Regions from separate parts of the Homo sapiens genome. Here regions 1, 2, 4, 5, 6 and 7 are each linked to region 3. Evidence: promoter capture Hi-C in 16 types of primary human blood cells and fetal thymus (Javierre and others, 2016). All regions are on one chromosome and are shown on one strand. Each heading gives the region's core, a stretch centred on a gene start or on the middle of the fragment in contact. The rest is flanking DNA. Distances are from core to core; before and after follow the strand shown.

Region 1 (3,848 bases), core at 1,255-3,754, 330 kb before region 3:
CATGTCCCTGCAAAGGACATGATCTCATTCTTTTTATGGCTGTATAGTATTCCGTGGTGTATATGTATCACATTTTCTTTATGCAGTCTATCATTGACAGGCACTTGGATTGATTCCATGTCTTTCCTATTGTGAATAGGGCTGCAGTAAGCATATGCATCCATGTGTCTTTACAATCGAATGATTTATATTCCTTTGGGTATATACCCAGTAATAGGGATTGCTCGGTTGAATGATATTTCTGTTTTTAGGTCTTTGAGGAAATGCCACACTGTCTTCTACAATGATTGTACTAATTTACACCCCTACCAACAGTGTATAAGCATTCCTTTTTCTCTACAAACTTGCTGGCATCTCTTATTTTTTGACCTTTTAATAATAGCCTTTTTGACTGGTGTGAGATGGTATCTCATTATGGTTTTGATTTTCATTTTTCCAATAATCAGTGATGTTGAGCTTTTTTAAAAATTTTTTTGTAGAGATGGGGTCTTGCCCTGTTGCCCCAGGCTGGTCTCAAACTCCTGGGCTCCAGCAACCTTCCTGCCACGGCCTCCCGAAGTGCTGGGATTATAGGTGTGAGCTACTGCACCTGGCCTCTGCCATTTCCTTTGTCTCTTTACCAACATTCAGCACAAGGATGTCCTTCATCAAATTATTAAGACTAAGGGTCAAGACAATTGCTAGAAATTAGCCTGAGCTTAACCCAAGTTCGTCTTCTGCCCTGTGCAGCACTACCATGTATCTTATTCATCCCCCTCATTAGCCTACCTACCTCATTCACACCCCATTTAGTGTTTCCACAATGGCTGATGGAAGCCTAATGCAACCAATATCCCAGTAGGAAGTCATTAACTACCATCTCCCCTTTACAACTACTAAGAGAGAGCATACCAAAATAATGGTACACTCCCTGCCACCCCCATTCTATCCAGCACTCAACAGTGAGGATCCTGACACTCGGTCCCCTGGGTACAGAAAACAAACTCACACAGTGTTGCCACTGGAAGGTCAGAGCCCTTCAAATCGTATTCCTACATAATCACCTGTTACTTCTTGGCAGGCCAGCCTTTTCTTGACTTCAATTCAGTTATTTGGGCCCTAACTAAAGTGATCTTCCAAGACTGTTGTTTTGGCCTGAAATCCATTGGGTTTAATTGTTTTTAAGGGTGCTAAACACCATATTAAACAGTGTTGACTGATATCTCACTTATTTGAATAACGCCAGTTATCAATGGTTTCATCACGTGAATGGCACGGATCACTCTGCAGACTATGCAGCCTGATGCATAGGAAGGTTCCAAAAGAAATAGTCTCGAGATGGCTTTTGATTTTATTTAAGAGTATGGTGGGCCAGGCGCGGTGCCTCACGCCTGTAATCCCAGCACTTTGGGAGGCCGTGTAGGGTGGATCACGAGTTCAGGAGTTCAAGACCAGCCTGGCCAACATGGAGAAATGCTGTCTCTACTAAAAATACAAAAATTAGCTGGGCATGGTGGCATGTGCCTGTAATCCCAGCTACTTGGGAGGCTGAGGAAGGAGAATTGCTTGAACCGGGACCTGGGAGGCAGAGGTAGCAGTGAGCCGAGATCACACCACTGCACTCCAGCCTGGGCAACAGAGCAAGACTTTGTCTCAAAAAAAAGAAGAAAAAAAAAAGTATGGCATTGAAAGTCAAACTCTCTCTTTTTTTCCAGTAAAAATAGAGAAATTTTAGGCCTCTTCACTTGGAGTTAGGAGGATCCCAGACATATTAGACCAATATCTAAGATTCAGCAAGCTTAAAGTTAAATATGTCTGTGTTAAGGAAATGGATGTCTAACCCCAAGTCATTTCCTTATTTTTTGAAATCCCCTCTGAATTGGGAATGGGCATTCTTATGGGGTAAAGAAAATCCTATGAAATCTTTTTTGAGACAACAGTATCAATTGATAGCTAAGCAGCTGTCCCTCAGATAAGCATTTAAAATCATGGAAATATCCTGAAGGTCCAGGGGAGATGATGAGACATGCTATGTATCATTGCTATTTATAAAGGATGTATAACTTACTTGGAAGTTACCAGTCTGTGTGGGATATGTGAGACCTGAGGAATGGTTCTTCCAATGGCAGTGAACTTCCATTGATCATGGACTTCCTGAGTAACCAGCTGTCTCAAGCCTGCTTCCTCACAGATCTTTCTCCAGGATGCTATCCCAGAATTCCAGTCATGAAGTCACCACTTTGGGATGTCATCTGCTACAAGTTTTTGAGCCAGCAGACCATTGAGCACCTGCCAGTTGCCAAACTATGGATGGCATAGTGCATTTTACTCCCTGCTGTCCCTAGAAGCAGGCACAATGCATTTCCAAGGGCCTGCTCCAAGAACCCCTCTCTTTGTAGTGAATATGCCTAGTTTCCAAATCCTGATCCCTCCTAGTCTGACCGTATCTGCTACCTCTTGAGCCCAATCAATCAAACTCTGTGTGCCTGTGGATATATGTTCATGTGCACACATATGTTCATGTGTGGATGCATGTAAACTCGGAGAATGATACAGCAGAAAATACCTTAACTAATTAGCCCGTATTTTTTAGATCTTCTTTGTCTTGTCCTAGGGGTCCTACAGAACCCCTTTAAGGGCAGAGTAGCTTTAGGAGGAGAAAATGAGGAAACTCAGAAGATTTCAGGGACCCCAAAGCCCCACAACAATTCAGCTTTCTGACCATCAGTTTTACATGTTGACTTTTACAGAAAGAATGTTTTTGAAGAAAGGGCACTCTCACTTTAAGCAACAAAAAGAAAACAACAATGGTTGAAAACCAGAGATTCTAGTCCAACTCCTTTGTTTTACAAGTAAGAAACTCATGAAGAAATGAAGATTGTCCCACAGTCACATAGCTATTTAGCTACAGTTGGAACTAGAACTGAGGTTGATTGATTCCCCAACTGTACATTTTCTATTCACCACACAACAAGGAGAAAGGGAAAAAAAAACAATACTGGTGTGCTTGTTGCATGCATTAGTGATTAGGATATGTCTCGATGACAACCTAGGATTTAAATGCCAAGTGAGAATGTGGGAGTGGAATTGTTCCATCCTATAATGAGTCCCAAGAAATCTTGAGCAAATGAGAGAGTAAGAAAAGGACTGAAATCTTGAGCCAAAGGAAATTCTTTCTGGATGTGTTTGGTAACCTTCAGCCTACATTTTCACTAGTAAAGAGGCAGCATGAATCCTAAATGGTCCTTGTAAAAAGCTTCCAATCAGAAACATCAAGATGGCAAGTCACCTTATAAGCCAGTAGATTTCAGAGCTTCTTGTATATTTGATATTTGTTAAAAGTGTTCATAGAGTTGTGGCAAGGCTTCTGAACAGAATGCAAACTGCATCTGGTCAAGAAAACTCTAGTGAAGAAAGCTACTAAAGCCAATTGGGATGGTCTTACTGATCAGAATCTTTTGTTCATGCAGATATACATGGACCTACAGAATCATGCTGAAAAGGATTCTCCTAAGCTTTAAATCTGTATTTGGTTTGCAGTATGAATGACTAGGAGCAATACTCAATCATGGATGTGGATTAGAATCACCTGGGGGGCCTTAAAAAATACTGCTGCCCAGACTCAACTGAAAAGAATTAGGAATTTCCGCAGGTGAGAGTTGGACATCAGTATTTTTTTAATGTTCCAAATGATTTTAATATATGACCAAGGTCAAGGACCACTGAGTCAGAGGGTTCTCAAAAGAACCCAAAAGATAAGGAAGGAAGAATGAGAGGGAAAGGAAGATTACTGGGTCCCGATCAACTAAAGTGATGCTCTGTCAGATCACTTTTTGTTGTTTGAAGAGCACCCTTTCTCAGCAAACATA
Region 2 (4,108 bases), core at 1,494-3,993, 410 kb after region 3:
CCAAACTTCCCACCAGGCCCTGCTACTAATACCAGGGATTCAATTTCAACATGAAATTTGGAGGCGACAAATATCCAAACTATATGAGAAGGCAAAAGACAGACATTTCACCAAAGAAGATAACACACATAGCAAATAAGTACACGAAAAGATGTTTTCACATCATTAGCCGGTAGAGAAATGTCAACTAAAACCACAATGAGGTATCACTACACACCCATCAGCATGACTAAAGTGAAACGTAAAAACAACATCAAATGCTGGCAAGGCTGTGGAGAAGTGATATTACTCATATACTGCTGGTCGGAATATAAAATGGTACAGCCACACTGGAAAATAGTTTGGCAGTTTCTTAAAAAGCTAAACATGCATTTAACTTATGACCCAACAATTCCACTCTTGGGCATTTATCCCAGAGAAATGAAAACCTATGCTCACACAATGTATGTCTGTGTGCACAAATATTCATAACAGCTTTATTTGTAATAGCCAAAAACTGGAAACAACTCAAATGCCCTTCAGTGGGTGAACTGCTAAACAAACTATGGTACACCTGTACCATGGGACACAATGCAGCAATAACAAGGAATGAACTATCGATAATCTCAACAACTTGGATGGATCTCATGGGAATCATGCTGAATGGAGAAAGCCAAGCCAAATGGTTACAGATTCATGTACATAGCATTTTTGAATTATAAAATTATAGACAGAGAACAGATTAGAAGCTGCAGCTATAAAGAGGTAGCACAAGGGAGCCATGTGGTAGTGAAACAGTTCCAGTGGTGGTTATACAAAGCTAAACATGACAAAATTGCATAGGCACGCATACACACACACACACACACACACACACACACACACGTACAAATAAAACTGATGACATCTTAATAAGCTCTGCAGTTTTCCCAATGCATTTTTCCTGGTTTTGATACTGAACTATAGCTATGCAAGATGTTACCACTGAAGGACACTAGACACTTGGGTCCTCCCAGTATATTATTATTGTAATTTCTTGTGAACTTATAATTATTTCAAAATGAAAGTTAAAAAATAAGTACAGGTAAACAAAAAGGATTTTGCAATGGGAATTAAAAAGAGATGTTTAGTGAGTTTAGAGAAATATTTGGTGTTACGGACAATCCCAGAAAAACACTAGGCCAAGAAGGAAGGGTGGTCAAGTGTGTCTAATTCAGCAAGGTGGTGGCAATTTAGGTGGAATGGTGGAGATGAAAACCAGTAGCTTGAACAGTGACTTATCTAAGAGGTTAAATTTTTAACTCCAGCTATACTTTCCCCAACAAACCTCTTAAGAGAGGTAATGTTTTGTCTGCATCTCGAGTATTCTGGTTCTGAGAGCTTGAACATAAGAGCTTACAATTTATTGAAAGCTTACTTTGATCCAGGACTAATTTAAGCATTTTATAAGTATTAATTCATTTCATTTACAAGCCTATAATGATCTTCCCCATTTTACAGATGAGGAAACTGAGGCACAGGGAGATTTTTTTTTATACATGTATATATCTCTCACTAGCGCATGTGAGAGAGCTGGGACTAGGGCATAGACAACCTGGCTCCACTTATTCATTTGTTCAACAAACATTTGTGGAGCACCTACCAAGGGCCAGATTCCAGGGCTCTCTGCCACTGTTCTGCCTCTAACTTCTACTTTAGTAACAACAGACACTTCACCGATCAGCTGCTTTATCAGGGTTTGAGTTTAGAGTGAATCAAGGGACCAAATGAGAGAGAACAGTTGGCAAGAGAGTGAGACATGGAAATTTTAAGGATAAAAAAAATGGCAAGAGGAGTTCAAGGCTGTAGTGAGCTATGATCATGCCACTACACTCCAGCCTGGGTAACACAGCAAGACCCCATCTCTAAAAAAAGTAAAAAATAGGCTGAGCACAGTGGCCCATGCCTGTAATCCCAGCACTTTAGGAGGCCAAGGCAGGTGGATCATCTTAGGTCAGGAGTTTGAGACCAGCCTGGCCAATATTGTGAAACCCCATCTCTACTAAAAATACAAAAATTAGCTGGGCATGGTGATGGGTGCCTGTAATCCTAGCTACTTGGGAGGCTGAGGCATGAGAATCGCTTGAACCCAGGAGGCGGAGGTTGCAGTGAGCCCAGATTGTGCCATTGCATTCCAGCCTGGGCGACAAAGTGAAACTCTGTCTTAAAAAAAAAAAAAGTTAAAAAAAAAAACAAAAACGGCAAGAGAATAAACAAATGGAGGCCATGTGATCAGGATTTTCTGTAAAAATATCTCCTGAAGAGCTCTACATTGGCTATGTGGGCCATCTCAAACCTGCAGAAGAGAATGCAGGGCCGAGTGGAAAGGACGTGAGTGGGATGGGAGATGAGATTCCATGTTGCCTGCAAGTTCTGTCTTGTTCACCTGGAGATAGCACCCACGCCACCATGTTACTGGGTTTGTGCCTTCCATTCCTTCCTTTGGATTTTTCTCTTTTTCCGTCTAGCAAATTTATTTCATTTCACTCCTCTCAATATTATCTTCATGTTTATTTTGAGTAACACAGTTTTTTTTCCTGAAATGCCTTCCACTGCTGTCCGAAACAGAGAGCAAATATGAGCGATCGGAATATTTTAAAAGGACAAATAACGTCATTGTTGAGGAATGGCCGAGCCTGCCATGCTGAGGATGAGTGGGTAAGCAACTGGAATGGTAGGCAGGGGAGGGGGCGGTGAGAATAACACAAAGCCCCATGGAAGTGAGTTGAGGGGAACTCCTTTACAACAATTAACATGTAGATTTGCTTCACTAACAAGTTCACAATAGATTTAATTAAGCTGGAAATCAATTTCACCCCATACCCATATCATACTTTCAAACTCTCCCAACAACTCTACTGTCAAGTCTGATCACTTCTTCACAAATGCAAAAAAGCTCAGGCAAAATGGGTCTGAAATTTGTGCAGGTAGCTTTGAATTTAACCTTTCTTGCCTTTTTTAGGGGGAAAGACCAAGATCAGATACTATTTAAAAATGGCTACAAGGTTTTTCATAAAGTAACAAATGATCAACCTTCAAAATTAAAGAATAAAATCTCTGTTCTTCCCAGCCCAAACACTGGTCTCTATTTTGTCCTTGAATATAATTTCTTTTTTTTCTCTAGTCAGGGCCTGCCCAGATACAGATAATGAAAGCACCTAGATGGAAGAGACTTCGTAGTTTATTATTTTCTCCAAAGACATTACTACTATAAACTGCTTTCTAGTGATGTCATGATAAAAGGGGGAGAGATGGAAACAGACCTTGTTTGCACACAGTTTGATGAGTCCTTAAAGAAATATTTCCTATAAAGACAAAAAATTAGGGGGAACAAACAAGTTAGCCAGAACTCTCAGGTAGAACATCATCCTGTCCAAAAGGCTAAACTATATAACTGTTTCTGCTAATTACTCTCTTCTGAGTGATTACTCTCTGAGTAATTAGCAGAAACAGTTATATAGTTTAACTTTGGGGATTTAAAAAGTGATAATGTTTTTATTCCATCAACTTTAAATTCTTCAATATGGCACTGAAGGTCTCCCAACTATCACCCACCCTCCCATTGGCCAACCGAACCAACCTAACTTTTCATTATTCATTTAGGTTATTAACCTTTTCAGAGCAGAAATCCCCTTTTAGACACTGATGAAAGTTATGGACTGTCTCACTTGAAAAAGGCACACGCACATAATATTTTATATATAGTTTCAGCGTTCATAGATCCCCCTAAACCTGAGCCTGAGGTCAGGGAGCCCTGTTCTAGATAGATAGATAGATCTCCTTCTAACCCAAAACAAAGTTCTTGATTTCTTTGGACATGACAGTATCTTTGCTTGGATCAACCTTTCCTTTCCACCAGCCCACATCCTTTTGGTCCCTTAAAATTTAGAAGGAATTCTATCATTTATCTCAACGGACGTGTTGAAGGACCTTGCCAGCTGTTATCTGACAGCACTTTATATCTGTCTCTTGTGGTCTTTGGACATGTTACTTACCAACCTTTTCATCTGTGCCTGACTTAATTTCATCAATTAAACAGTATGTTCCTGGAAGGCAAGCACTAGATCCAGGCACTACGAAGCTTCTCTTG
Region 3 (3,921 bases), core at 1,262-3,761:
ATGCCGTGCCCACAGAGGTGAAATCTAGAGAGGCAGTCAGCCTTGCTGAGCTTCAGTGGGCTCCGCCCAGTTCCAGTTTCCCGACAGCTTTGTTTACTCTATGAGCATAAAACCACCTACTCAAGCCTCAGCAATGGTGGATGCCCCTCCCCCTGCCAAACTCCAGCGTCCCAGGTCAATTTCAGACTGCTGCCCTTGCAGTGAGAATTTCAAGCCAATGGATCTTAGCTTGCTGGACTCCATGGGCATGGGACCCACTGAGCGAGCCACTGGAGGGAATCTCCTGGTCTGCCAGTTGTGAAGACCATGGGAAAAGCGCAGTATTTGGGCAGAAGCGTACTGTTCCTCCTGGCACAGTCTCTCATGGCTTCCCTTGGCTAGGGAAGGGAAATCCCCTGACACCTTGTGCTTCCCAGGTGAGGCGACGCCCCACCCTCCTTCGGCTAGCCCTCTGTGGGATGCACCCACTGTCCAACCAGTCTCAATGAGATGAACCAGATACCTCAGTTGGAAATGAAGAAATCACCCATCTTCTGCATCGATCTCACTGGGAGCTGCAGACCGGAGTTCCTACTAGGCCATCTTGGAAGAGTCCCTGGTTTTTCTTCTTGTGCTCCCATGTCCTCTTATTTATCACTTTAATGTGATTATTTTTGGTATTTCATTATTAAGTATTATATTGGCTTTGGATTTCTAAAAAATACTTGTTACCAAGTTAAGAAAGTCTGCTTTTCCCTTGGCACACCAGGAATTTTAATCAAAAGTAACGTTAACATTTATAAAATGTCCTTTAGCATCTACCAAGATTACATTAGCATATTTCCTAAATTTGAACAATTTTTGTACTCTTGAATAAATTTGATCAGGTAAAGTGTATTGCTCTTTTAGTATACTGTTGGATTTGATATTTCATAACAGACTTTTTATTTGTGCTTATTAGATAGATTGGCCCATGGTTTTGTGACATATTTATCAGGTTTATTGTATCAAAGTTATGATTTCTATAGCTTTGTAACAATTAAGTACTACAGAACTTAACTATTCGTCAGTATTTGGTAAAAATTTCTGAGAAAATGAACATGGCCCAGAGCCATTTTACAGTATTTTTTTTACAAAAGTTTCAACTTTTCTATGGATATTGATCTATTTTGGCTTCCTATATTTTATTCAGGCAAATTGGTTGTTTGTAGTTTCCTTAAAAATATCTATTTTAAAATTTTATACTCAGAAAAGTACAAAAATTTTATTTAAAAATTATAATTTCCTTTGGTTATACCTTTTCTGTTTTCTAATATTGTATTTGTGTTCTCTTAGGTTTCCTTTGGCTAGACTTGCTAGGGATTGATTGGTTTGTTTTGTTTTTATAACTTTTCAAATACAAGATCACTGTTTTTATCAATAAATTGTAATGTTTGGCTTTCTCATGTTTAAGTCATTGCTTTTACATTCTTTTACTTTCTTTTGATTTATTTTCTTCTTTTTAATTTCCTGAGTTATACATTTATGTTATTTTAAACAAAATTTTTCATAAGGTAAGATTTGGTTACAATTCACAAGATTATATTATGTTATCAGGATTCTTTTTTCCTCTTTGATACAAGAGTTATCTAGAAGACTATTTTTATTTCCAGGTGATTTTTAGAAATGCTTTATTTTGATGCTGATGTCAGTATTTATTGCATGGAGTCAAACATATATTTCCTATACAAAATTATTCATTTTCAAATATATTTCTAATTATACAAGTAGCACATGAATACATTTTTATTGTGAAAGATTTATATAATGTAGACAAAACTATTTCCTCTAACCCCATCTCTAGTGGCAACATTAGTTACTGGCTTATTGTATATCATTTCAGTCTCTTTTCTATTCATCTGTGTCCTCTCACCAGGAACTGGTACCATCCTGTACTTACTGTATGTAGCACACTGATCCATACATGCATAGGCATTGCTCCCACCTGCAGGCTGCTGCCTAGCTTGTGGCTAATACGGGGATATAGAGAAGCCAATTCATCTGGTTGCTCCTGCTGAAGTACACCAACTAATCACCTTCTTGATTACTTCTGATGCACTCCTGCTCATTGTATCTGCCAACCCAGAGCATGAAGTAACTCTTTTATAGAAGTTTTTCCTGCATGCAGTTTGACCATACATTTCTCCTTCAAGTGATTGTGTTTTCATCTTTCAGTTATTCAACATAATTTTGTGTAGTCAGTATTCATTTACAGTTACCAACACATTTACCCATCCAGTATTCTTCATTCCCTCCTTGAATTTCCATCTTTTCAAATGAGATCATTTTTACTTTTGCTAGTAGAAATCCCTTCAGCATTTCAGTGTAAAACTCCTAGCAATAAATTATGTGAATTTTTGTTTTTTGTTTACTTTTTGCTTCTTTTTGTTGCTTGTTTGTTTGAAAATGTCATCATTTAACGTTCATTTCTGAAGATTGTTTTTCACACGTTGGCCTTTAGTTTCTTTCAGTACTCTAGAGATAGCATTCCATTATCTTCTGGCTTCTATTGTTGCTATTAGAGACAGCTGCCAGTCTCATTGTTGCTCTTTTGTAGATAATGTGTCTTTTTTCTTCTGGCTGGTTTTTCCATCTTCTCTGTCTTTGGTTCAGCAGTTTTATTGTGAGTTGCATAATTGTGGTTTTCTCTATACTTATCCTGCTTGAGGGTTTGCTGAGCTTCTTAACCAGTGGGTTAAATGTATTTTATCTGCTTTAGAAAATTCCCAACCATTATCCCTTTGAATATTGCTTCTGCTCTATTTCTTTCTCCTTGCCCTCTGAAACTTCAGTTTTACATGGTAGACCTTTCATACTTGTCCTGTATGTCTCTTACATTTGTTTCTTATTTTTTCTCTTTCTTTTTTTCTTCCATGCTTCACTTTGTATATTTTTCATTGATATGTTTCCAGTTCACAAGTCTTGTATTCAATAGTGTCCAACCTATTGTTAAACTCATATATTGAGTTTTTAAATTTAATTTTGAAATAATTTACTTTGAAATATTTTTATCAGAAAAGTTGCAAGAACAGTAGAATGAACTCCCACATTCTCTTCATCCAGATTCCTCAGTTAATAGTTTCATATTTTCTCCATCTCTTTTTGTAAAGATGATAGATAGATAGATAGATAGATAGATAGATAGATAGATAGATAGATGTGTATTTTCAAGGATATGATACCTTTTTTGAATATTTTGAGAGCAAGTTAAGCAAGTTGAAACCTTTATGTCCTATCATCTGTAAATATTCCTATTACTACTTCTCCCAAAGACACTCTCCTACAGAGTAATTGCCAAGCCTTTCAAATCAGAAAATGGACAGCGATAAATACCAGCATTCAAACCACAGTTCATTATTATCCAACGTTCCAGGCTTATCTTGAAATTTCTCTACCTCCATCCTTGAATCATCCACTTTTACAAGGAGTCCTTGTTGTTTGTTATGGAAATTGGAACCTACATACTTGTTATTAATTGCTACTGGGGTGTCATTGCACCTAGGTCCTCTCCATGGTCAGAATTTTGAAATATATGTATGTATTCATGGATATGTACACAGACATATTCACTTGCATTGATAATTTTTTTTGTTTCTTTCCTCCCTTCCCTTTCACTCTTTCCTTCTTTCCTTCCTTTTGCTCTTTCCTTCCTTCCTTCTTCCTTCTTACCATAACAATAGCAATGAGTTATTTTTTTCGCTTCCCCTTTTCATATTTGTAAATTTGTTTTCCCACAGAGAGAAATCCAGCTTCCATTAGCTTCAATATAGATACTTTCTTGATCAATCCTCCTTTACATAATTAATTTCCTAAAAATGCTAGGTACTGCCATGGCCAACTCATCACTCCTGATTTCATCTCCAGGCAAGTTGTCACTTTTGAACTCTTCTCCCCACCAAACCC
Region 4 (4,182 bases), core at 475-2,974, 360 kb before region 3:
GGGTAGGTAAAGACAGAAAGTTGAAATACATTCTTCATGAAGTAGCAAAATCATTTTTAAAGTAGGAACTTTGAACTTAAAATATTACTGTTTATTGTTCATCATACACTTTATGTCTCTTGCTAAATAATAAATTAGACTACATAGAGCTTCCTCCATATATTTATGTCTGCTGAAAATATTTGGCTAAATTCATTTTGGAAATACTTCACTTCCATGAAATATTGACATGGCAAAGACCATGTCAGAAACTTTGCCATTTTTCTGTGGAAAATAATACACGTGTCAGCCATACATTATTCCTTCCCACACTTTAATGCTTAATGATTAAACATTTGAAAAGTACTATTTCTAAATATTCTTCCAGACTACCTGTCCAACACAGAGTTAGCTATTCCAGTGCAAAGTCCTGGCTCCCAGACAACTAAGGGACCTTCGGAAAGGGGTAGAAAATGGCGGCTTCTCACCGGAGCCCTAAAACTGAGTAAACTCTAGGAAGCAGAAAAAGTGTAGAAGGGGAAGGAGAAGGAAAGGGAAGGAGTCTGGCATCTGTGATGGAGCTGGCCAGGTGTCTACAAACTCATTTCTCCTTCTGAGCTCAGGAATAAGCCACATTTGCCACCCATGCCTGGCAGTTAGCAGTGGCCATGAGACTGAGTTCTGGGCTGTGCGGAACGTGGGCACAAGTGGTGCTCACCACTTCAGGCCTCACCCGTAAAACTCCCTGCACAAACCTGCACATGCTCTGCCTCTCCCAGGGCCACCCAGCAGCAGATCAAGGGCAGCTCTCTCAGGAGGCGCTGGGGCATGGTGGAGCCGTTGGGCACAAATGTGATATCTAACTTGATTTCTTGCATTTCTCTCAGACTTCTGAATAACTGAGGGCAACAGAGCCCCACATTGGATGAGTGATGTCAGAAATACAACTCTGTGTGAAGCCGCTGAGGTGTGGGGTGATTTCTGACAGCAGTAGTCTTCTCTGGCTAATTCAGCGAATAAAGAAATCGAGCGATAAGGACAAGCTCCACTTCTTCATCTAGTCCTGTGAAGCAGTTGATCTTTTTCAATGTCTCAGTTATGACATCTCTCATGTGAAAAGCATCAACGCCAGGAGCTTCTCCATGTCCTCTGAGCAAGGGATGCATCCCATCCATTTACAGACTATAAAAACTCAGGGGGAGGGTTTCATTGCTCAATGAGGGGCTTGAATTTTCTTTGATCCCCTACTGATGGCGAATGATCTCTTTATTCCTTACACGGGGAGGGAGGATGAAACCTGGGGCAATTACATTAGATTCCGTTGACATGTGAAGCAATTTTGGCAAACCCAGCGAGCCTTTTGGTTGTGATTTATATCTAGTCAGGGAGAAATGACATCTGGGATGTCTGATTTATTCACTAGCAAAATGCTGGCTGAACCTAAAATAAGAAAATAGAGATTTATGTAACAGATTGCAGAGCCTTAATTTAAGAATGGTTAGGAAAGCAGCAGACACTCCAAGGCTCCGCTCTGCTTGGAATCACATGCTGCAAGTTAATATTACCTTTCTTAAAGTATTAAGTGACATGTTGAGAATTAGAGCATTATTTCTTCAAAATTCAACACCTGAATCTTTTCAAGATGACTGTTTCATATCCAAATAAGTCCTGGCATTCCTTTACATATTGACTGCCATAGAGAAGCAAACAGCTCTGTGAAATTTAGCAGACAGCTACAGTCTATTGTAGTTCTACCTGCAACCCCACAAGCAACTTCATACTAATCTCCATGCCAGGAGAACCTGGAAAGTACTGGGACTTGGTGAATAAGGAATTCTGTCCCCTCTGTTAAGAGACCACGTGGAGTCAGCGCCATAATTGTTTCCTCTTCAAAACCTAACAAGATTTTTCTGGAAAAGACTCAATGTTGAAAACACCAAAATGCAATTTCTTTCCGGTCTCAGTGCCCACAGTAGATGTGCTCCTGCATGTAGTGCTCACTAGACAAGCCACTGATTTATTCTTGCCTGGTGACACAGTCCTGTTTCCCGCTTCCTGCTTTACATTGGCCTTTGGAAAGCTCAGAGTCAAGAGGCAATCCCCACTGAGAATGCAGAGGACTCCAAGGCACAAATGTGATATCTAACTTGATTCCTTGCATTTCTCTCTTTTCTGACTTGGTTTCACACGTTCTCATCTATGCATCAGTTGATCAAGCAATTCATTTATCATCTCAGCTGGCTGAAATTCTGAATAAGGTGAGGTTATCCACAGAGAGAGAGAAAAATGATATAAAAGAGAAAAGAATGATGAAATAAGAGGGGAAGAAGAAAGGGAGAGAGAAAGAGAAAGAAGATAGGGAAAGGTGACTGGGCTGGGAAGGATGAATAGGACACAGGGAGGGATAGAGAGAAAGACACATTCCCCGTTTCCATCAGTGTTCAGCTGGTGAGAAAGCTGAGTGCTTATCAAAGGTTCACTAAACAGGTGGATTTATCTTTTCCTTTATAGAAAACTAAAGCTCTTGCTATTGTTCCTTTCTTCTTTTAGATTTCCCATATAATGAAGCGATTGCACTGAAGAATCTCTTCCACGATATGAAATTTTGCTAACTAATCACACCTTCCTTGATGTTACGATTTGGAAAGAGTCATTGTTGTAAAAATTGGGGATGAGATTTTTGTCCCTAGCAAGTGTAACCTTGGTAAGCCTGCTTAGGCTGTTTAGTTGCCCCCTTTCAATGTTACTAACTATTGGAGACAGACTATCCAGCATCTCAGGGAGCATGGTTTCAGCTTCTTTACACCCTTCACTCTGGGCAGCACAGCTCCTACGATGAATGGTGACATAAGTAAAGTACTTCCTGCCTGCCTCTCCTTTTTATGAACTTGGCCCTTTGTCAGGCATAGCATACCATCTTGCTGACCTTGAATAATTCCTTGGTGTGACCTTGGGCCTCTGTGTCTGCATCTAACACAACAAGACCCACCTGGGAAGAGGGCCTGATTTTTTTCTCCTACCAAAACTAAGTGCTTCTTTCTTCTCTTTGGAAAAATATTTAGTAAATGATTTCAACCTTATGTGCTAACAGGTTCCAATCCAAGTTCTTAAGGCAAGGACGGGAGCAAGATAGAGCTGCAGAATCTGTCAATATGGACTTTTATGGGAAGATGAAAAGCATGTCCTGAAAACTCAGGCAGGGATCATTGAAGGTGAGCTGTGTGCCTTCCTGGTTGCCCATCTCTCGAGGTGCTTGATCATGGACATTAGGTTGTAAATTTCTTCCAGCTATATCTATCTATTTAACAATGCATTTTCTTTAGCCAAAGTAATGCTTCTATAGTGCATATGAAATTTAGTCCACAAAAATTAGAGTGCAATAAATGTCACATTTATTTCTTTTCTTAATTTATTACAAGTTTCCTTTTCTTTTTTTTTCTTTTCTTTCTTTTTCTTTATGAAAAATCCAATCATGATCATTATTTGGGGTTTCATTCCCACCTTCCCAGTCAAGCAAAGTTCCTTGTGGTCCTAGGCACTTGGCAGTGTTAGGTGAGGGCACCTGGTCTTCTGTTCATATGTGCTCATCACTGGCGTGCTTGCTTCCCAAGCCCAAGAGGAGTTTCAGCTTCCATGCCAAGCAAGGACACTGAGCTCGGCATTTATGTTTAGTCCACTCTCCCAGCCCCTGAGCTATCCTCCTTCTGGGGCTCTGTATATAAGCGTATGATGGGGTAGGCTGTAACACTTTCTTGGGCCTCCGGTTTCCTTCTCTCCTTTTCAGCCCAGTCAGTTCTGTCTTTTGAACTCAGAGCACTACAATTCATCCACCCACTCCTCTCCCAGGACCTTCTAGTGTAACAAGACTGAGTTCTCACAGTGACCCCTAAGCATCTAAGAAGGATTGCCTTCTTTGCCTGGTTACTCCCACTTTCCTCCCTGTGCCACATGTGTGCTTCCAAAATGAGGCCCGACTACAAGAATCAAGTAACAGTCAACAACTCAATCAACTGTCCCTCCACCAACAACCAGAGACAGATGAAGTGACATCTGCAGCTGAGGAGCTGACATAGAAGAAAACATGGGGCAGCATGGGCTCGTGACTCCCCACCCCACTCCACTTGAAGGAGGAACCCCGGCCACGCATATCCAAGCAAGAGGAGAAGAGATCCTCTCTGGGAAAAGAACCCAGTTTGGTTGTGT
Region 5 (4,322 bases), core at 432-2,931, 370 kb after region 3:
CCACAGCCGACAGCCAGGCCACAAGTTCTAACTCTCCACTCAAGACTGGGATGTTTTCTTACAGCAAAAACCAAACCTGATACCACCCCAAATTTTTATTTTATCATTAGCATTTTATTTCCTCAAATGTGTTTACTTTGCAGTAACAGTAATGTCAAAATATCCTGGACAAGGGTATCATGCCCAGGACTATTTAAAGAAAGGAACCCTTTGCCGTTTCCACAAACCCCGAAATGGCCTAAAATGTGAGAATTTGCATCAGATCTCACTGCCATGCAAATCAGAGAGTGGCTTGCATGGTGGCCTTATTTATTTTGGTAAATGCGTGGGCAGGGGAGGTAAAGGAGCTGTTTGAAATGCTTTTAAAATTTTTAGTTTCAAATTATTGAACACTCCAAGAAAAAAACTTAGATTTTTCTAGGGATAAAATAAAGCAAACCTTACTTCAGATATGTGTAAAGCATAAATACACTTAACACTCTTGAAAGCTATATTGTTGACTATTTGAAAAGAGGGCTGGGAATATTTTCTTCTTAATGAATAAGTAAATTCACTTCACCTGAGGACTTAGTACAAATGGGCTCCTACATCATCTTTACTGGCCCTTTCCCACCATGGTGTAAGGCTATGGTTCCTTCCTCTCTTCAGGGCACGGCCACCACTTCTCACCTTCTTATCTTGATGTTCTAGCCAACTGTGACTCCAGTTACGGTACTTACCTGGGGTTTGCCTCCTACCTCTATAATTTTCTTCACCCCAATCTGCGCTACTGGTGCTTTGTCCTCAATCTTCTTCTGGGGCCCAGGTCTCTGCATGACCTCCCATTGGCTGAATTATTAATTGTTAATGGGAATGTATCTCTGGGTCCCTGAATTGCTTCCTCAATTTGGTATCACATAAAATTAACTATCAAGGACGAGTTGTTATTAACATGAATATGGAAAGGTAAACATGCAAGAATAGCCAGGAAAGCAATTAAAATAACAACTGTGAAGAGAAATGCTCTGGTAGACACTGAAACATACTAGAAAGCCTCTATTAACACAGTCTGGGCCTGACCACAGGAATAGAAAAATAGGCCAGTGGGATAGAATAAAAAGTCCCCAAGGAGACCCAAGACATGGAAATGTAGGTGTATCCTAAACAGGTATTGCTAGGGCAGAGGTGGGGAAAATTTCCAATGCGGTAGCCATTGGAAAAAGATAAAATCTGTACTGCATACCATATACAAGAATAAACTCCAAATGGATCAGGGATCTAAATGTAAACATTTAAACTGTACAAATACAAGAAGCAAATATGGGTGAATTTTTCTTTAACCTTGATATAGGGACTTAAAATCCAGAAAAATTAAATATTGATAAATGTGTCTACATAAAATAATTAAAACATTTTTATTGCAGGAGAACCATAAACAAAGTCAAAAGGGAAAAATATGTATAATTTATAACATGGATAAGGGGTTAATATCCTCAATATTCAAATAATTCTTAGCGAGGGAAATGATTAAAGCTACCTGAAAAATAGAAAAAAAGACATGAACAGACAACTCATTTAAAAGCATATATATGGCATTTGAACTTATGAGAAGATATTCAAACAACCCATAATTAAAGACATGCAAGTTAAAACTATTGCATTTCTCACCTATCAGATAAGGAAAAATTTAAAAGTATGACAACACATTCTGTTGGCAAGAATAGAGGGAAACAGGTACTCTCATGCATTGCTGGTGGGAATACAGATTGGCACAACCCTTTTAGAGGGGGATTTGGTGATGACTAACAAAATGATTCATCCACTTACTTTTCAACTAAGCAGTCCTACTTCTAGGAATCCACCCTAAATATACATCTCTAAAAGTACAAAAATACATATACACAGGTTATTTATTATGATATTGGTTGGAAAGAGCTTGAATACTTAAGAGAGTAGGTGAATAAACTATAGTACACTCAGTGGAGTACTATGCAGCCATAAAAAATGAGTGATAAGGGATGCCTATGAACTGATATGCTGTGCTTACTAGGGTATACTGTTAATTGAAAGAAGCAAAATGTGAAAAAATAGAAAAGCCTATCTTTTGTGTAAGAAAAAAAGGAAATAAGAAATTATACACATATCTGCTCAATAGTGCAAAAATAAATAGAGAAAAAATAAACCAGAAACTAATGACTAGTTACACATAAGGAGAAGGGAATGACTCCTAGTCACATACAAGGAGAAGGGAATGACTCCTAGTCACATACAAGAAATAGGTAGAATTGGGTTGGAAAGGATGGGAAAATGAGAGCAGGATAGAATGGATAGTGGGGGGCAGAGGAGTGACTCTTTTCTGAGTAACCCTTCTTATAAAATTCTGACTTTTGGCAACCATAGTAGTGATTTATGTGCTCAAGATATATAGATAGACAAAATCAACAGGGATGATGAAAGAAATCCAAAATGGAATTTGTATCAGTCAAGAATCCAAGCCAGGAGGCACAAGTCATGCAGTAATTTGAATAGAGAAGTTCATTATGAACAGGGAAATAACTATGAAGGTGTAAAGACAGCCCTAAAGAATATTCTAGAGCTGAGAGTACAAAAAGAATAAACAAATTTGGAAGTGGCCCCTCTCCAAGGATGCGACTGAGATCTCATGGGAGGTGATGGAGATACTCAATAAATACTAAAAATTAATGGGTTTTCTGGGCCCAGAGCTGTACCACAGCCATCAGGCAAGTAAGAAATACACCCTTTGGTAGGCATGCCAAAGCTGGCAGGAAGAAATTGCAGCCAGGGCCAGCAAGCCAAAAGCAACCCTCTGGAGTGCAAGCAGTCAAGACTGGCAGAAGGGCATTGAGAATGACTCAGCATATTAGGAGCCCACTCATCAGCAGGGCAGCATGAGACCTGAGGTGTGCAGTGTTTACTTTAGGAGGGTCACATCGAGGTGGTCACCAGGCCAAGGCCAGAGCTGTGAGCTCACTAAGGCACCATGTGGTCTGAACAAGCAGCTGGGACAAAGCAGCACTAAATTTTTTCCCGCACACTGCTGGCCACCGTGTGGTAGGAGTGAAGAGATAAAACGGCAGCACATCAGGGCCGGGTGCAGTGGCTCACGCCTGTAATCCCAGCACTTTGGGAGGCCGAGGCGTGCGGATCACGAGGTCAGGAGATTGAGACCATCCTGGCTAACACGGTGAAACCCCGTCTCTACTAAAAATACAAAAAATTAATTAGCCGGACATGGTGGCGCCTGTAGTCCCACCTACCCCAGAGGCTGAGGCAGGGGAATGGCGTGAACCAGGGAGGCGGAGCTTGCAGTGAGCCTAGACCGAGCCACTGTGCTCCAGCCTGGGCAATAGAGTGAGACTCCGTCTCAAAAAAAAAAAAAAAAAATAGCAATGCATGGTGAATCTGCGGGCTTTGGAACCATCCAGATGTGGATTCGACTCTGACCTTGTAACTTAACTAATTGTGTGATGCCAGGCTAGTTACCTAATTTCCCTAAGCCTCAGTTTCCTCACCTGAAAAATGGGTCATCATAATAATATCTACTTTACGTTATTTATTGCAATTATCTCTATATTTATATTATGATTATTTATATTCAATGGATGATATTTGTAAAGAACTTACTACAAACTCAACCAGCAGAATTCATAATAGTTTGATATGGTTTGGCTGTGTCCCCACCCAAATCTCATCTTGAATTGAAATCCCCATAATCCCCACGTGTTGAGGGAGGGACCTGGTGGGAGATGACTGAATCATGGGGGTGGTTTCCCCATGCTGTTCTCATGATAGTGCATGACTTCTCATGAGATCTGATGGTTTTATAACTGTTTGATAGTTCGTCCTTCACAAGCACTCACTCTCTCCTGCTACCTTGTGAAGAGGGTGCCTGCTTCCCCTTCCACCATGATTGTAAGTTTCCTGAGGCCTCCCCAGCCATGCAGAACCATGAGTCAATTAAACCTCCTTTGTTTATAAATTATCCAGTCTCCGGTGTTTCATTATAGCAGTGTGAAAACAGACTAATGAATAGTTGTTATTGTGATTGTTGTAATGAGCCACATCAATGACTAGTTCACTTCTCCTTGAACAAACTATATACTATGCATTGAAGGCCCTATTTAACGACAGGCAGATACCCCATAGGTTATGTTTCTAAAGGTTTGATATAGCTCATTGTAAGTAAATCCAGGACATGAAATTTTAAACTTACAAAATAGATAAATAGTGAGTGATTATTTTTATTAAAACGTGATTCATGGCCTCTTTTGGAGCAAGTAGCATTTGGTTTCCTTTTAATGTTTGCAGAAACAGAACTATGA
Region 6 (4,245 bases), core at 1,092-3,591, 420 kb before region 3:
CCTTGGAAATGGACAGGTACATTTCTTCCTTGGAAAAAAGTGGGAAACCTGGCAGAGTTTGATGGCTCATGCCTGTAGTCTTAGCACTTTGAGAGGCCAAGGCAGGAGGATCACTTGAGCCCAGGAGTTCGAGACCAGCCTGAGCAACATGGCAAGACCCTGTCTCTACAAAAAATAAAAAACTTAGCTGGGTGTGGTGACACACGCCTGTGGTACCAGCCACTGGGGAGGCTAAGCGGGGAGAATCACTTGAGCCCAGAAGGTTGAAGCTGCAGTGTTCATGCTGCTGCACTCCAGCCTGGGTGACACAGTGTAACCCTGTCTCAAATAAATAAATAAATAAATAAATAACATGTTAAAATAGGAAGGTCAGAAGGATGGATAACCATCTAGATAAGCCCTAAGGAAGGTGAGTATGGGGAAAGCTGAAAACATCATACACTGGCAGCCTGCATTTCCCATGAATGACTCTGTGATTTCCCCTGCTGTGGGTTCACGGTAAGGGTGATGGGGACAGGGATGGAGTTGTAAGGGTGATGGGGACAGGGATGGAGTTGTGACCTTTGATGAGGTAAAGGTCTGGGATAGCTGTTATTAATACGAAAAGGAAAAGACAATCTGAGCACCTTTTCACAGCCCTAACTTACTGACTTACTAGGTTATTTCACCTGACTTTTCTTAAGACCTGAATGCTAGTTTACCCAGGGGTCTGTGCTTACTTTGTTGTCCTCCTTTTTTTTTTTTTTGAGACGGAGTCTCGCTCTGTCGCCCAGGCTGGAGTGCAATGGCGCGATCTCGGCTCACTGCAAGCTCCGCCTCCCAGGTTCACGCCATTCTCCTGCCTCAGCCTCCGGAGTAGCTGGGACTACAGGCGCCCGCCACCACGCCCGGCTAGTTTTTTGTATTTTTAGTAGAGACGGGTTTTCACCGTGTTAGCCAGGATGGTCTCGATCAGCTGACCTCGTGATCCGCCCGCCTCGACCTCCCAAAGTGCTAGGATTACAGGCATGAGCCACCACACCCGGCCTATCCTCCTTTTTATATTAAAAAATCTTCACTTTAACCCTTTCAAATTAAAGTCTGTGCCATTGTATAATAGTTATTGAATAATAACTATTTTTCATTGGTTTCTATAATGTCTGAGCAGGAGATTAGAAAAGTGAATGAGACTCTGCCTTAACCTTCAGGACACAGGCATGGGAGGCCATTCTGAGCAATAGTTAAGAGCACACGTTCTCACATGAGATGCTGAGGGTGTGAACCTGCACTCTGCCAGTTTTCAGTTATTTAATGTTAGACAAATTAACCTCATCATTCCTGGTATTTATATGTAAAATGGAGATAATTGATAGATTTATAGCATTAGTTTGAAGATTAAATGATATTACACATGTAAATATTGTTCAGTTTAATGTCTAGTACAAGACAAAGTACTACATAAGTTTTAGCCTTTATTTTTAGCCCTGGCTCTCAAGACATAACCAGCTTAGGCTATGAGGATGTCAGTCATGGTGAGTAGAAGTTTCTCAGGGATTTACAAACTTACAAAATTTATAAGAGATAGGACTGTGGTTTAATTTTAACACTAAGTCAAGCTTGTTTAAATTCCAGAAAGGGACATCAAAGTACCAAATCAGGAATAAGTTGAATAATTTTGTCTCTTTTGGCCTAACATAATGATTTATCTCTTGTCCCTTTTCTTTGCTCTTCTGTCTTCACTCTCTCCCTGGTAATCTCATTTAATATCAAGAGTCAAGCCATCATCTTGAGAGAATTGAGTCTCAAATATCTTTCCTGAACTCCAGACCCATACTTGCAACATCCTGAAAAATATTTTTGCCTGGATGTTCCCCGAACCTAGGAAACTGTATTTTGCCTTCTTCATCTTGGTGTCTAATCTTCACTTATAAGAAGTATAAATATATTTGTGTTTAAATGGATATAGTGAAGAGAATATGCAAATACATACATGTAAATGAATGAGTAAATGAATAAAACTTGTGAACAGTTTTTCAATTTAGACTAAGATTAGCATATAAAAAGCCTTCAAACTATTTCCCATTCATGAAGTCAAACTAAGTTGAAAAATAACATGCTGACTTCATTCTTCAATTTGGAATAGATGTCTAAAAGTGGGGTTTGGTGAAGAACCTGTCCTGCCACCCAAAGTCAGCAAAAAGGCTTAGGCAGCAAAATAGTGAGATAGAAAGGAGATTGTCAACCTCAGTCACAGGTAGATCACAGACACACACTTGCATAATCATTGCTCTAAGTCCAAGCAATTTCTAAGGGTAGGAAAAAGCTAGACGGTCTATATCAAGTAAACTTGGCTGTGCACTGCAAGCATCAACCTTCTTTATGGAAAGCATGTGAGTTGTGAGTACAAGGGATGGGGATAATGGTAGACCCCACTGACAGTGGACCAGGAACTAAACATATAAATACATCCCCACCCTCTACTCATGGTCTAGACTCCAGTGAAAAAAGATAAGGAAGTAAAAAGTTGGAGAAAGTATGTAAGAAACAGAGCTCCCTCTCATTAGTTTTATTTATTTAACAAAAAACTCCTGAATGCCCTCCAAGTTTCAGGGACTGTTACATGGTCTGTCAGATAACCTAATCAAACCATGTGATAGGAGTGGTATTTGGTGTCCACACAAGTCTACTGTACTCTGGGGAGAAGTTGCTGCAACATTTCCAAGTCCTTCTGACTCCTTTTGAATACACACACATACACACATACACATGTGTCTGAAACTACGGTGTGGTGGGATGAAAGGGGCATGACCTTCTGTTCAGGCGACCAATGTCTTGGAGTAGAAGGACACAACTTTCTCTAATCTTTGTCACCAGGAGAACTTCAGTGTCAGCCTCATGAGGCCTCTACAGGCTGGCCTCCACTGAAGAATTCAATAGTAAGCCAGAGAGACAGATGGAGACTGGAAGATTTTGATTCCTTATCCTGGCCAAGTTTAATATTTCCAAGAACTTGTATCCCCTCAAAAGATATATTAAAGTCCTAATTCCTGTACCGGAGAATGTGACCTTATTTGGAGATAAGGTTTTTACAGAGGTAAACAAGTTAAAACAAGCTTATTAGGTTCGACCCTAACCTTATATGACAGGTTATATAAAAAGGGGATGTTTCTTATAAAAAGGGGATGTTGGGGGCACAGACACGTGTTCAGGGAGAATGCTATGTGAGGATGAAGGCAGAGATCAGGGTAAGGCTTGTTCGTAACAAAGAATGCCAAAGATTGCCAGCAAACCACTAAAAGTAAGGGATAGGCATGGGACAGATTCCCCACCCAGCCCTCAGAAGGAACCAACCCTACTGACACCTTGGCCTCAGACTTCCAGCCTCCAGAACTAAGAGAAAAAATTTCTGTTGTTTAAGACTGTCACTAAGTTTTTGGTATGTGCTTTATTGTGGCAGCCCTAACAAGCTGATACACAAGGCTAATGCTCCAAACTGTTCTGGAAACTAAATTGTATCCAGGTTCATATGCTACCTCATAGGAGATGTGAATGCCTATCAAAATCTTTTCAAATTTATGTTAATAGCATTGAAAGTGAAAAGAAAAAAGAGCAAATATTGTCTCTTCAGAATGATTCTCCCAAAATAATGACAATGTGCTCTTTGAAAAGCTCCTCTCTTTGGAAAAGGCATCCTATATCCTAATCATTTGTTTCCAGCTGAGACAAAGAACTGCTCTTTTATTTCAACAGCAGATAACCACGTTTCAACAATCAAGCCAAAACAGCAGTAATTAACATAAACTGTCTTATGAGTTGCTTGTACACTACCTCATTTTGTCTCATGAGCAGGGCTATGAGATAAATTAATTAAAAACCAGAACAGACGAAAGATGGGCAAGTTTGGGTGTATTAATACTTACTATGAAATTATGATTATGACAACTTAGATAAAGTGAAAACTATTTAAACAAGGCTTCATTGTTTCCTTGTTGTAGGCTAATAATCATCACCACTCAATTCTGGCATCAAACCAGAGCTCAGGGAGGCATTGTGACTTGCAAGTGAAGAGAATGTATTCTAACCTGGGTTCAGCAGGTATAGCTACGTAGTTTGCACGGCTGGTGCAAAATGAAAATGCAGGGTTCATTGGTAAAAAGCAGGAAAAGAGTCATTGAAGGCACTAAAATAATATAAAGTTTCCTTCCTTCTTCATCATGGGGTTTTAAATTATATTTAATGTTGTTTAATGTGGTTCTAAGTAAATTA
Region 7 (4,084 bases), core at 1,134-3,633, 280 kb before region 3:
CTTCAACCTGGGAGGCGGAGGTTGTAGTGAGCCAAAGTCGTGCCACTGCACTCCAGCCTGGGTGAAAGAGTGAGACCCTGTCTCAAAAAAAATAAATAAAATAAAAATTTTAAAAATAAAAGTTTTGGAAAGTCAAGGTTAACAGCTGAATCAGAATCCTTACCTGGTGATGAGTTATATAAGTGATGCCTAAATGTCCCTGTGAGTGTATGTCCATGCAGTCATGGCATTCTAAAGGTTCATCTTTTTTACTTACAAAAAGGCTTCAGCTTACGTCTATCATTAGTTAAGTTTAGAAAGCCTTCAGAAAGGCCTCACCTGTTCCCACTGGGAATGCACTGCTGCTCTGATGCAATACTACACTTTAGGTAATGCCACAGCCATGTTACTGACAATAGCATATGACAAAAATGTCTCCCCGCTATTTTCATTAGCCAGATTCACTCCACCCATGACAGATACCCATGTTCTACTAAACTTCACACCAGTGCATTATCAGGAGGACCAATGTGCTTCCACTTATGTATTAGAAAGAAAAGTGGATTATACTTACAGGAGGCCCCAATACAATTGGCTCTGCTTGCAAATACTGTCCCATGGACAATGGTGGGTTATGGTATAAAGCCCTTCTGGGAGATGGCGCTCTTATTGTGGTCATGTATCTTCTCTCTCTTCTAGGAGAGAGGTCTCTTCTTGCTGTGATATCTTTCCCAGGAGACACTGGCCTCCTTGGAGACAAATGCCTTCTTGGTGAAACATCTCTTTGGGACATCTCTCTTCTCAATGCAGCTTCCTTTCTTGGTGAAAGATGTCTCATGGGTGACAGATCTCTCCTAGGTGATAAATGTCTCCTGGGAGATAAATCTCCTTTGGGTATCAGATACCTCTTTGGTGAATTATCTCGACAGGGTGAAGAATCATATCCTGGAGAGGAATGGTGGCTTGAGGGTGAGAAGTCCCTGGGAGAGGAGCTTGGCTCTGAAGGTAGCATGCACTCCTCATCCATACAACTAGGTATGTCCAATCTGTCTTTGTCTGGTTCTGAGTCCGTACTTTTGCTCTGGAATAGCCTCTGGTATTCTGTCATCTGGGTATCTTCACATGAATCACTGGGTGTCATAAGCTGAGTAACTCGAATACTTGGCAAAGTAACCAAATAGCTGATCAACGAAGAATGTCCCAGGGAACTATCTGAAGGAACCCCGTGGGGTACGGCGCCAACATTCACAGGCAAGGAGGAGAATCTAGGAGGCTGAGGACTGGTGCTTCTTGATCTTGTTTTTGGTGTTAAATCTCCCTGGTCGTCAAAGTCATCTTCATCTTCATCATCATCATCATTATCATCTCCATCCTCACCATCTGATTCCTCAGCATCGGAGAACTGATGATCAGTTGAAATGCTGGACATGCTATGCTTCTCTGCTGCTTTGTGCAAATCTTCCAAATTTTCTGAAACAATTAAACAAAGATAATGGAGATCAAGATCCAAATATCAAGGTTAGGATCTTATTTAAGCCTCATTTCTTTCTAAACGCTTTTCCCAATCCCTAGTGCCCACAGATAGTTATGTCTGAGAACTCCTATAAAATGAGGCACTTACCTGTGTGACCCTGCGTTCATTCTATCTTCTTGTATATCTATTTGTTTTCATCCCCAACTTACAAGAAAGATTCCATAGTAGGACTTTATATCTCAGACATCATCCCACTCACAGAAAACCCTCAACAAATGAGCATGGATAATGTTAATTATGATGCTAGAGGAGAAAGAAAGGCAACAACCTGTCTCTGCAAGCTCAGGTACAAACGTATGTCTAAGTGATGTAACTCAGGAGGTCTGGCCAACCTTAATGATGTTTGTTTGCTAGTTTATTTGTTTTCCTACTGGGTTTCTTCTTAACTTGAATAATAATACATTAAAATGCTTTTCAAATTCCCCAAAAAGCCTCATAAAATCTAATTTGCTATCACAAAGCAAGTGCAATTCTATTCCCTTCATAGAAGGCTCTAAATATAAGTATTTTCAAAGTAAGGCCTTTTTTGCCCTCGGAGTCAAAACTGAAATGCATTTCTTCTCAGTAGATTTCAAGCAATTCAATGTGTCAGTTTTATTTTCTATATTTAGTATTTAATAAAATGAAAAGTGATCACTTTTTAAAAATATCTAAACTTATTTTACTACCTCAGCCACAGAGCTCCACTGTGCATAATGAAGAGGTCTGTCAACTCATTTATGACATACACACCTGCTTCCTCAGTTTCTGTATCATCCACCGATGTCATTGAGACTCCCAATTCCAGGCATTTTTTCATGTGTGCTTTAGATTTCATATGCTTCGTTAGGTTTCCTTGAAAATGTAGCAAAAAAAAGAGAGAAATTAATTGGTTATCAAATTAATAACTGCTGATAGCTGCTCCAAATTCAATGTGAAATGAACTAATTTTATTAAATTCATCATGTAACACAGATTTGTTTCTACCCACTACCCCTTGTTTCAACCTTAAGAAGAATAATCTGGTCTTTGAAGATATCAATCCCTGAGAGCTTTGGCCCAATCTCAGATATTCTTTATTCTAGAAGATATGTGGAAGTCCAGGCTCACATCTTTTCAAGAGTAGGCTCAAAGCAAGACTAGAAATCCCAGGCTTTTCTGCCTGAGAAGGGACCTCATATCTACCCAAATACACCAGCCTCCTGGGACTCCACAGAAACAGGAAACGCAATCTGGCCACACACCTCAGAGATACTTCAGAATGAAATATTCTCAACACACCCACTGGGCCCCTGACCTTCTGTGACTGATCAGGTACAGAGTAACCTCCAAGGATCTTCACCATTCAGAAGAAAAATACATACAAACTAATGTGAGGGCCAACCTTGTCAGTGCTCTGAAAGATCCATACAAATAATTAGCTAACTACTCATAGGGAGCATTATTCCCAGTATTTAGCATCTATCTGTCTGGCATATGTTAGCAAAAGTTATGACAGCAATTCCTAAAATTCTGGAGCAGCAACATTCCCTCTTTACTTATCTTCAGGCTCCTATCACACTAACAAAAAAGAAAGGTTTCATGCTGAATATGTTATAATGATAATGGCATATACAATTATATGTGTATATACATGTGTGGATATAAATTATATATATAATTTGTATAACTGCTTTATGAAATGTGAGAAATTTTGAAAACATTGTTCCAATCCTCGTTGACCCAGGATCTACAGAAGAATGCACACACACACACACACACACACACACACACACACACACACATACATATAAATTATATGCCATATAACTTATCAAAAGAGATTCAGGAACTAATTCAGTTGTAAGGCGCCTTTACATCACTTCAGTGAAAATAGCCATAATGTTATCTGTGCCCTTGACAACGCTTTAGCAATGTACCAACAAATACTTTAAGAGAAGGCTCTGTGAAATCTCCGTGGAAACTCAGCCTGCTAGCACAGTTTATTCCTCTGGTAGGGGTGTTCAGCTTGCTGTTCATGTAATATATGAGCCACAGTTAAAACTGGGACACTGTTGTTTATTATTTTACTCATATTGCTTTATTATTTACTTATTGCTTATATACTTATAAATTTTACATGCTGTTTTGAATAATTCCAAACAGAAATATTTCCAGGCCCCCACTCCTCCTATTTATCAAAACTTATATCTACCATTTTTTAAAGAGCCCAAAAATGTTATAGACATATCAAGAATGCTTAAATCTAGAAAATTAATGAAATGTATCTACAAATTAATAAAAATCATCACTTGTGCCAGAGTGCAAGTACGCTATGGATGTGTATAGGTATAGATGCTAAGCATATCGGGATAGTTTATTTAGATTTTAGTATGTGTTTCTTTCTCCTACATTTTTCTCTCCATTCCAAGGATAGTCAGGCTTTAGACTCCCATCTTCAGAATAGGTCTGTAGCTAGAAATCTGGATCTGAAACAATTCTACCATGGCTTTAGTTTGTTAAAGTCATGAGCTGCAGAAGTAATGTATAAGGACAAGGAGAGGGAAGGAGAGTGGCGGGGGAGGCCCCTGAAGAAGTGGCACAGACAAGGAG

Evidence for each region. Contacts are between HindIII fragments. The CHiCAGO score rates a contact against its expected background, and 5 or more counts as called.
Region 1: a fragment that was not itself captured here is called in contact with the fragment with the promoter of LINC01277 in region 3 in 11 of 17 cell types (total B cells, naive B cells, activated CD4 T cells and 8 more); the score reaches 8.6 in total B cells.
Region 2: a contact is called between a fragment that was not itself captured here and the fragment with the promoter of LINC01277 in region 3, in 1 of 17 cell types (total B cells). The highest score is 5.4, in total B cells.
Region 4: a contact is called between a fragment that was not itself captured here and the fragment with the promoter of LINC01277 in region 3, in 16 of 17 cell types (naive B cells, neutrophils, total CD8 T cells and 13 more). The highest score is 13.5, in naive B cells.
Region 5: a contact is called between a fragment that was not itself captured here and the fragment with the promoter of LINC01277 in region 3, in 3 of 17 cell types (M2 macrophages, megakaryocytes and total B cells). The highest score is 5.7, in M2 macrophages.
Region 6: a fragment that was not itself captured here is called in contact with the fragment with the promoter of LINC01277 in region 3 in 1 of 17 cell types (endothelial precursors); the score reaches 5.2 in endothelial precursors.
Region 7: a fragment that was not itself captured here is called in contact with the fragment with the promoter of LINC01277 in region 3 in 3 of 17 cell types (total B cells, naive B cells and monocytes); the score reaches 7.0 in total B cells.

What each region holds. Positions count from the first base shown.
Region 1 is chr6:142,709,368-142,713,215 of GRCh38, forward strand. No RefSeq gene overlaps it. Among named protein-coding and RNA genes, the nearest start is that of HIVEP2, 230 kb to the right of the region's middle. The HindIII fragment of the contact is 1,458 bases long and covers 1,776-3,233 here.
Region 2 is chr6:143,441,647-143,445,754 of GRCh38, forward strand. All of the region lies in intron 1 of ADAT2 (adenosine deaminase tRNA specific 2), which reads right to left. Among named protein-coding and RNA genes, the nearest start is that of ADAT2, 7.0 kb to the right of the region's middle. The HindIII fragment of the contact is 2,708 bases long and covers 1,390-4,097 here.
Region 3 is chr6:143,035,071-143,038,991 of GRCh38, forward strand. LINC01277 (long intergenic non-protein coding RNA 1277) reads right to left here and starts at 2,512. Exons shown (of 3, transcript NR_038987.1): 1 at 1,919-2,512. RefSeq lists an enhancer at 1-57. The HindIII fragment of the contact is 5,129 bases long and covers 1-3,921 here.
Region 4 is chr6:142,674,982-142,679,163 of GRCh38, forward strand. No RefSeq gene overlaps it. Among named protein-coding and RNA genes, the nearest start is that of HIVEP2, 270 kb to the right of the region's middle. The HindIII fragment of the contact is 4,934 bases long and covers 1-4,182 here.
Region 5 is chr6:143,406,590-143,410,911 of GRCh38, forward strand. No RefSeq gene overlaps it. Among named protein-coding and RNA genes, the nearest start is that of ADAT2, 42 kb to the right of the region's middle. The HindIII fragment of the contact is 7,946 bases long and covers 1-4,322 here.
Region 6 is chr6:142,619,382-142,623,626 of GRCh38, forward strand. The region is part of intron 1 of LOC153910 (a long non-coding RNA gene); the gene reads right to left. Among named protein-coding and RNA genes, the nearest start is that of ADGRG6, 320 kb to the left of the region's middle. The HindIII fragment of the contact is 1,497 bases long and covers 1,594-3,090 here.
Region 7 is chr6:142,759,219-142,763,302 of GRCh38, forward strand. HIVEP2 (HIVEP zinc finger 2) reads right to left here. Exons shown (of 10, transcript NM_006734.4): 8 at 2,246-2,347; 9 at 554-1,449. Among named protein-coding and RNA genes, the nearest start is that of HIVEP2, 180 kb to the right of the region's middle. RefSeq lists an enhancer at 2,627-2,676. The HindIII fragment of the contact is 9,901 bases long and covers 1-4,084 here.